2 separate regions of the Homo sapiens genome follow, and region 1 is linked to region 2. The links are contacts of gene promoters, found by promoter capture Hi-C in human tissues and cell types (Jung and others, 2019). All regions are on one chromosome and are shown on one strand. Each heading gives the region's core, a stretch centred on a gene start or on the middle of the fragment in contact. The rest is flanking DNA. Distances are from core to core; before and after follow the strand shown.

Evidence for each region. Contacts are between HindIII fragments. The study calls those that stand out against the background at their distance.
Region 1: a contact is called between a fragment that was not itself captured here and the fragment with the promoter of CSTB in region 2, in 1 of the 25 tissues and cell types used here (dorsolateral prefrontal cortex).

What each region holds. Positions count from the first base shown.
Region 1 is chr21:44,331,345-44,334,930 of GRCh38, forward strand. It overlaps CFAP410 (cilia and flagella associated protein 410), which reads right to left. Exons shown (of 7, transcript NM_004928.3): 4 at 1,689-1,918; 5 at 499-670. Among named protein-coding and RNA genes, the nearest start is that of CFAP410, 6.3 kb to the right of the region's middle. RefSeq lists enhancers at 24-525, 526-1,025. The HindIII fragment of the contact is 7,900 bases long and covers 1-3,586 here.
Region 2 is chr21:43,774,858-43,777,557 of GRCh38, forward strand. CSTB (cystatin B) reads right to left here and starts at 1,451. Exons shown (of 3, transcript NM_000100.4): 1 at 1,347-1,451. The coding sequence starts at 1,412. RefSeq lists a silencer at 1,030-2,029. The HindIII fragment of the contact is 5,981 bases long and covers 1-2,700 here.

The DNA.
Region 1 (3,586 bases), core at 186-2,685, 560 kb after region 2:
AGAAGTGCCCAGCTTCTGTCAAATGCGTTCGTGACCCGCTGCCAACTGCCCTGGGAGGCGCCGGCGTCTCACTGCAGAGTCAGCCCTGTGGCCCCTCCACGGCCCCCAGGCCCAAGGCCATACGGGCACTGATGGCCGTGCCCACAAACCATTCCAGTCACTGTGGCCCTAGGCCACCCCCCCCACCAGGGGCTCCCTGCACCTCACGAGCTCTGGTGCTGTGAGCCTTCTCTGTGCCAGGGCACGGGGCCTGGCTCACCCCCTCTCCTGCTCCCTGGCACATCCGCTGTTGGGCAAAACATGGACCTGCCACTGAAATCACTACCTGGGCACTGAGTCACTCCCAGAGAATATGGATGAGAACAGACACTCCCCCCGGATAATCCCTGTCCCTCACTTCCCAGAGACGCAGCTCACGGGAAGCCCCATTCACTCCCCGTGGGAGGACCCTGGGGGACAGGGATGGGCTGCGGAGTCCCCGCTGCCCTCCAGCCTCACGTTGCCTCCTCCTCGCTGTCCAGCGGGTCCCGGCCAGTCTCAGCAGCGGAGCTGAGGGAGCTCAGTGTGCAGCATAGCTTGGGGCCGCCGTGGCCTGTGCCCTCTCTCTCTGGGGCCGCAGTGATCTCCTCTCCCTCACTCAGTGCACGGGACAGCTCCTCCTCCGTCACAGCTTTGGGATGAAAGACAGAAGACAGCATGAGTGGCCTCACCCACGTGCAGGCCACATGCACTGCAGCTCCCGTCCTCACTGTGGCTTCAGGCACAGTCTGCTTGTGAAATGCATGCACGTGTATCCACCTCCAGGGACAACTCCCAGAGTAGCAGCCGGTTCCTCACTGTCCCATCCCCAGCCTGGCACAGGCTGACACACAACAGATGGTGGAGGGCTGCTCAGGAATCTCAACACCAGCCTTGGCCAGAAGCAAATACTCCTCAAAACCTCAACTAAGACACAATAGAAAAAGGAACAGACCATATTGAATTTATTCCATTTCTCTCATATATCAATTTCCCTGAAGTTTATATTATTAATATCAATAAAATTGTCTGGGAGAAAATAGTGGTGTCTGTATACCTGACAAGGATGAGACACTAGTGTGCTGAGAATGCCAAGGATGAACAAACAGCATGAAACCACAGCCTGGAAAACTGTGTCGGTGCTGGCGCTGGCTAGAGGAGGCACGAGTGCCTCCAATAGGTGGAGCGCAGCAGCAGGCACTGCGGTGCTGGGACGGCCCCTCCCCACGGCAGGGGCGCGATGGCACCGCCACCCTAGGTTCACAGTGGCCCGTGGAGCCTGCCCAGTCCCTGTGGACCAGTGCGATGCTGCTTGCCAGATACTGACGCCCCCGCTCGCCATGGCGCATGGCGATGGTCAGAGCAGGGCTGCTACTCACAGAAGCAAAAGAAGGAACCCTTTTGCTTTGCTACCAGGTCCTGCGGTCGTTGGGGGATACCCAAACTGTCAGTCCCAGGAGGGACCCTACGCTGCGCTGCTGCATTCGGGTGGCGGGATCAAGAGGAGACACAGAAGCCAGGGGAACAGCCTCTGGAGGAGACTTCACAGGACACATCTATGTCCCGCCAGACCAGGTATTTGCAGAAAAGGAGAAGAGAAAAGAGGGCTGGGGACATCCCCTTCCAGGGATTGTTTTGGGAGGGCCGGTGACTCCGCTGCGGCCACCTACCCTGGTTGTCCAGCTTCTGTAGGCGCGGCAGGGTGCGCAGCACGGTCATGCGGTAGCGGTGGGGGCTGGTGCCGCAGCACGGGTTCTCGGCCAGCCACAGCACCCGCAGACGCGGCAGCCCCTTCAGGTAGAAGAGCTCAGCCAGGCTGGGGATGCGGTTCCTCCGCAGGTACAGCTCACTCAGGCGCTGGCACCGGCTCACAGGCTCCAGGGTGGAGATGCTGTTGACACTGCACGGAGACCAGCACAGTCAGCGAGGGACGTGGCCAGGGCCCCCAGGGCCACCTCTCAATCCCCACCCCCAGTAAAAGGCACTCATGGGACCTGTGTCCCTGCCCTCTCCTGAGAAGCCTAAATCGGATGTCACAAGTCACGTGCAGCAGGACCTGGGCCGAGGAGAGAGCTGTAGGAAGGCCAGGCCCTGAACTCAAAGGCGGACTGGGGTGGACCCCACCAGCAACAGCCCCTTGGCCCGACGCTCCACATCAGCTCCTCAGGGCGCTAGAGTGCGGGAGGTGGGGGATGTGGCCCTCCTTCACAGGTGAGGAAAATTAAGGCCTCTCAGGGGACATATCATGTTGCCCCAAAGCAGGGAGCGGCCAGAAAAACTCATGGCAAAAACTAGGAGCCAGCTCCACGTGACATGGGAGTGAGCACGGACCTTCCAAACCCCCACTTGAGGGCGGCAACACTGGGGATGGGCCTCATTTCCATTCTACAGAACGTGGACGCGTCAGAGAAGAGAAACAGCAGGCCTGGAGCGGGGACCTGCAGGCTTTACCCTGCAGCGTGGGGTCCGTCCCCTCCACAAGCGAACACGCGGAGCCGCTCCCGCAGGCCCTCAAAGGCGCGGAGCCAGGGCCCCCTGCCTGGAGGGCTGCACTCGCGTCCGGCAGGCGCCTCAGAAGGGCGGTCACCAGGCCCCCATGGGCAGCCTGCCGTCCTGAGCCCCCCTCCCCATGCCATCCCTTCACTCGGGGTTTCCCAGGTCTCATGCAGCTCCTAGCTATGAGGCCGCCCCATTTTACCAAGAGCAAAACTCCGGCTGTGGGACTCTTTCCAGGATGGGGTCTGCCTCAGGCACAGGCAGCAGCGTGATGTACCGACCGCGTCCGCGGCCTCGAGGCTTCCTGCTCCGCTCCAGTGCAGTCAGGCGTGCAGGCACCACGCACCTGAGCTCGGTCAACACCCCTGGGGTCCTGTCCCTCCCGAGATGTGACAGAAATGGCCCCACACACGAGCGGCCTGATGCTCGGAGGCCCTGTGGCCCCTGGGTGACTCAGTGAGCGGCAGGGATAGGGCTGGATCCACAGCCCCGCCCCAAGCTTCCTGCCACCGTGGGAACCACAAGCTCCACGTTTCCCTGTCAGGTAAGCCTTTCGGAGGCAGGCCTGAAATCCCAGCCTCACTGTGTCGCCTGACTAGTGAAACGAGCCCCGCGGCAGGCACGCGCACCCCCCCTCAACCTCTGGGCGGGCACGCGCACCCCCCCCCCCCCCCCGCTCAACCTCTGGGCGGGCACGCGCACCCCTGCTCAACCTCTGGACTCGGGCTCCATCTCCTCCTCATCTCCCTGTGGGGTGGGCACTTGTAATACCTCCATGTTACAGAAAGGAAACTGAGGCACAGAGAGGGCCATGCCTCGCCCAAGGTTAGCCAGCCAATAGATGGGAGGGCTGAGATTTGACCCATGAGCATGCCTCCAAGCCCATTTCATTCATTCAGCAAGGCTCGGGCAGGACAGGCTGGTGCCCGCGCTGGGGATGCCTGAACACCAGATGGACTGGCCTCAGCCCATGGCGGGCAGCAGGCTGGGCACGGGCATCAACATGGCAATGCCAACCTCAGAGGGCATTACGGAGGATGGGCAGGGGCTGGCCTACCCCGTGGCTGCCTGT
Region 2 (2,700 bases), core at 201-2,700:
ACTGGCTCTTCACACAATTGTCTCTTACAACTGAAGGGACATTTAAACTGTCAGCCTAATAATAAAGTAGAAAAAAACAGTTCCAGCTGGGTACGGTGGCTCAAGGATGTAATCCCAGAACTTTGGGAGGCTGAGGTGGGCGGATCACTTGAGGTCAGGAGTTTGAGACCAGCCTAGCCAAATGGCAAAACCCCGTTTCTACTAAAAATACAAAAATTAGCTGGGCGTGGTGGCGAGCACCTGCAATCCCAGCTACTCGGGAGGCTAAGGCAGGAGAATCCCTTGAACCTGGGAAGCGGAGGTTGCAGTGGGCCGAGATTGTGCCACTGCACTCCACCCTGGGCAAGAGTGAGACTGAGTCTCAAAAACAAAAAAAAAAAACACAGGCCTCAGCATCGCCTGGACCTGTTCTTGCTTGGGGCATCCCGTCGGTCACCAACCATGACAGCGAGGCGGGCCTGGCCTGTGCTCCACCGGAGGGGGCTTCTTGCACAGATGACCTGCTCATTTCAGCCCCTCCAGAATCTTCTGGCAGGCGCAGAGCAACAGGACGTCCATTTTACAGACGAGGAAACCGAGACACAGGGAAGGTTGCCATCTGCAACCCAGCCCGGTTTTTATCTTGTTTTTCTGTGTTTTAACTTTTTATTTAGACTTACAGTTTGAAACAGTGCTAGAATCGGAAGCATGTAAAGAAACCTGTGGACCTTTTATGCAGATACACTTAAGTTTTTAACCCATGTGCCTTATCACTGGGGACCTCTTGCACTCTCTCTCATGATTTTTTTCCCGAACTAGATGAGGATATTGACAAAGATTCTTGCTTGGCCAAACTGTAGTCGGGCTCCTGAAGCGCCTAGGCCACCTGCGCACTTCCTTGTAAAATCCACTTTTAGCAAGAAGCCTGGCTAAGTCAGTTTAGCCAGACCCTTCCCACCCGCTTGCTATCGGATCACCGTGGAGATCGGAGCCGGCTGCTCACCTGCGCCATCGCCGGCGACGCCCGATCACCCTGCCTGCCTGAAACCAGAAGCGCCTCATCCCTGGGGTTTCCTCTCAGAGACTGTCCATGCAGGGACCGCACCCTGCTCCGGGCTATCAATTCCCACTCGCCCTTGCTGTATTCAGCGGAGCCCAATGTCTCCCCAGCGGCGCCCCAGGCGCGGCCCCCCGCTGCTCACTCGCGCGCAGCGCCCGAGCGGAGGGAGGCCTCTCACGGCCACAGCCCGGGCCAGCCCAGGGGTGCGCAGCGGGGCCAAAGCGGCTTCTTTCGCTCCAGGAGCCGCGGCCGCGCCCTGAGGCTAAGGCAGGACTCCGGGCCGGCCCCGTCCCCGCGGCCCACCCACCTGGTCGGCGATGTGCTGGGTCTCGGCGGTGGCCGGCTGCGTGGCGGAGGGCGCCCCGCACATCATCTTGGCGGCGACGGAGGGAATCTGGCGAGGGGACTCGGCGAGGGGACGCGGCGGCTCCTCAGCCCAAGTAGGCGCTGGGGTCACGTGACGCGCGGGCGGAACCAAGGGGCGGGGAGGAGGCACTTTGGCTTCGGAGTCCCCTGCGGGGTCGCGGTGGCCCCGCAAGAAGGGACGCGCGGGGCGGGGCGCGGGGCGGGGCGCGGGGCGGGGAACCTGGCCACCACTCGCCGCAGGCTGGGTCTCCGCGCCCAGCGCTGGTGTCGGGAGGGAGCGCCCCCCTCCCGGGGCTGGTATCGTCTTTCCGGGCGCCGAGTCACACGGACCGGGGCGGGGGCGCGGCCGGGTGTCGCCGGTGGGTTGGGCGCGCAGGGTGGGACGATAGGGAAGGGGCAGTCGGAGTAGGCGCAATCCTGCAGGGTGGCGGGGTCCGGGCCGCGCACGAGGGAGGGCGGGGCGCAGCGCTGCAGGGGTCAGGGGTCAGGGGTCCCGGCCCCGCGGGAGCAGGTGTGCGGGCTGCAGTGGACATCACCGCTTGTGACCGAGAACACTGAAGGCTGAAGGGGGTGGACAGAGGGGCCCAGGGAGGGGGAGACGGCGCCCACGCGCTCCAGGCTGGGTGGGGGCAGGGGGTAGATCAGAGGGATGAGAAGAAGGCAGGGTTCTCTGGTGGAATTTGCGTTTTAGGATTTCTTTTCTTTCTTTCCTTTTCTTTTCTTTTTTTTTTTTTTTTTTTTTTTTTGAGACGGAGTCTCGCTCTGTCTCCCAGGCTGGAGTGCAGTGGCGCGATCTCGGCTTACTGCAGGCTCCGCCTCCCGGGTTCACGCCATTCTCCTGCCTCAGCCTCCCGAGTAGCTGGGACTACAGGCGCCCGCCACCACACCTGGCTAATTTTTGTATTTTTAGTAGAGACGGGGTTTCACTGTGTTAGCCAGGATGGTCTCGATCTCCTGACCTTGTGATCCACCCGCCTTGGCCTCCCAAAGTGCTGGGATTACAGGTGTGAGCCACTGCGCCCGGCCTTTTTTTTTTTTTTTTTGAGACGGAGTCTGGATCTGTCGCCTAGGCTGGAGTGCAGTGGCGCAATCTCGGCTCACTGCAAGCTCCGCCTCCGGGGTTCACACCATTCTCCTGCCTCGGCCTCCCGAGTAGCTGGGACTACAGGCGCGCGCCTTCATGCGCAGCTAATTTTTGTGTTTTTAGTAGAGACGGGGTTTCACCATATTGGCCAGGCTGGTCTCGAACTCCTGACCTCGTGATCCACCTGCCTCGGGCTCCCAAAGTGCTGGAA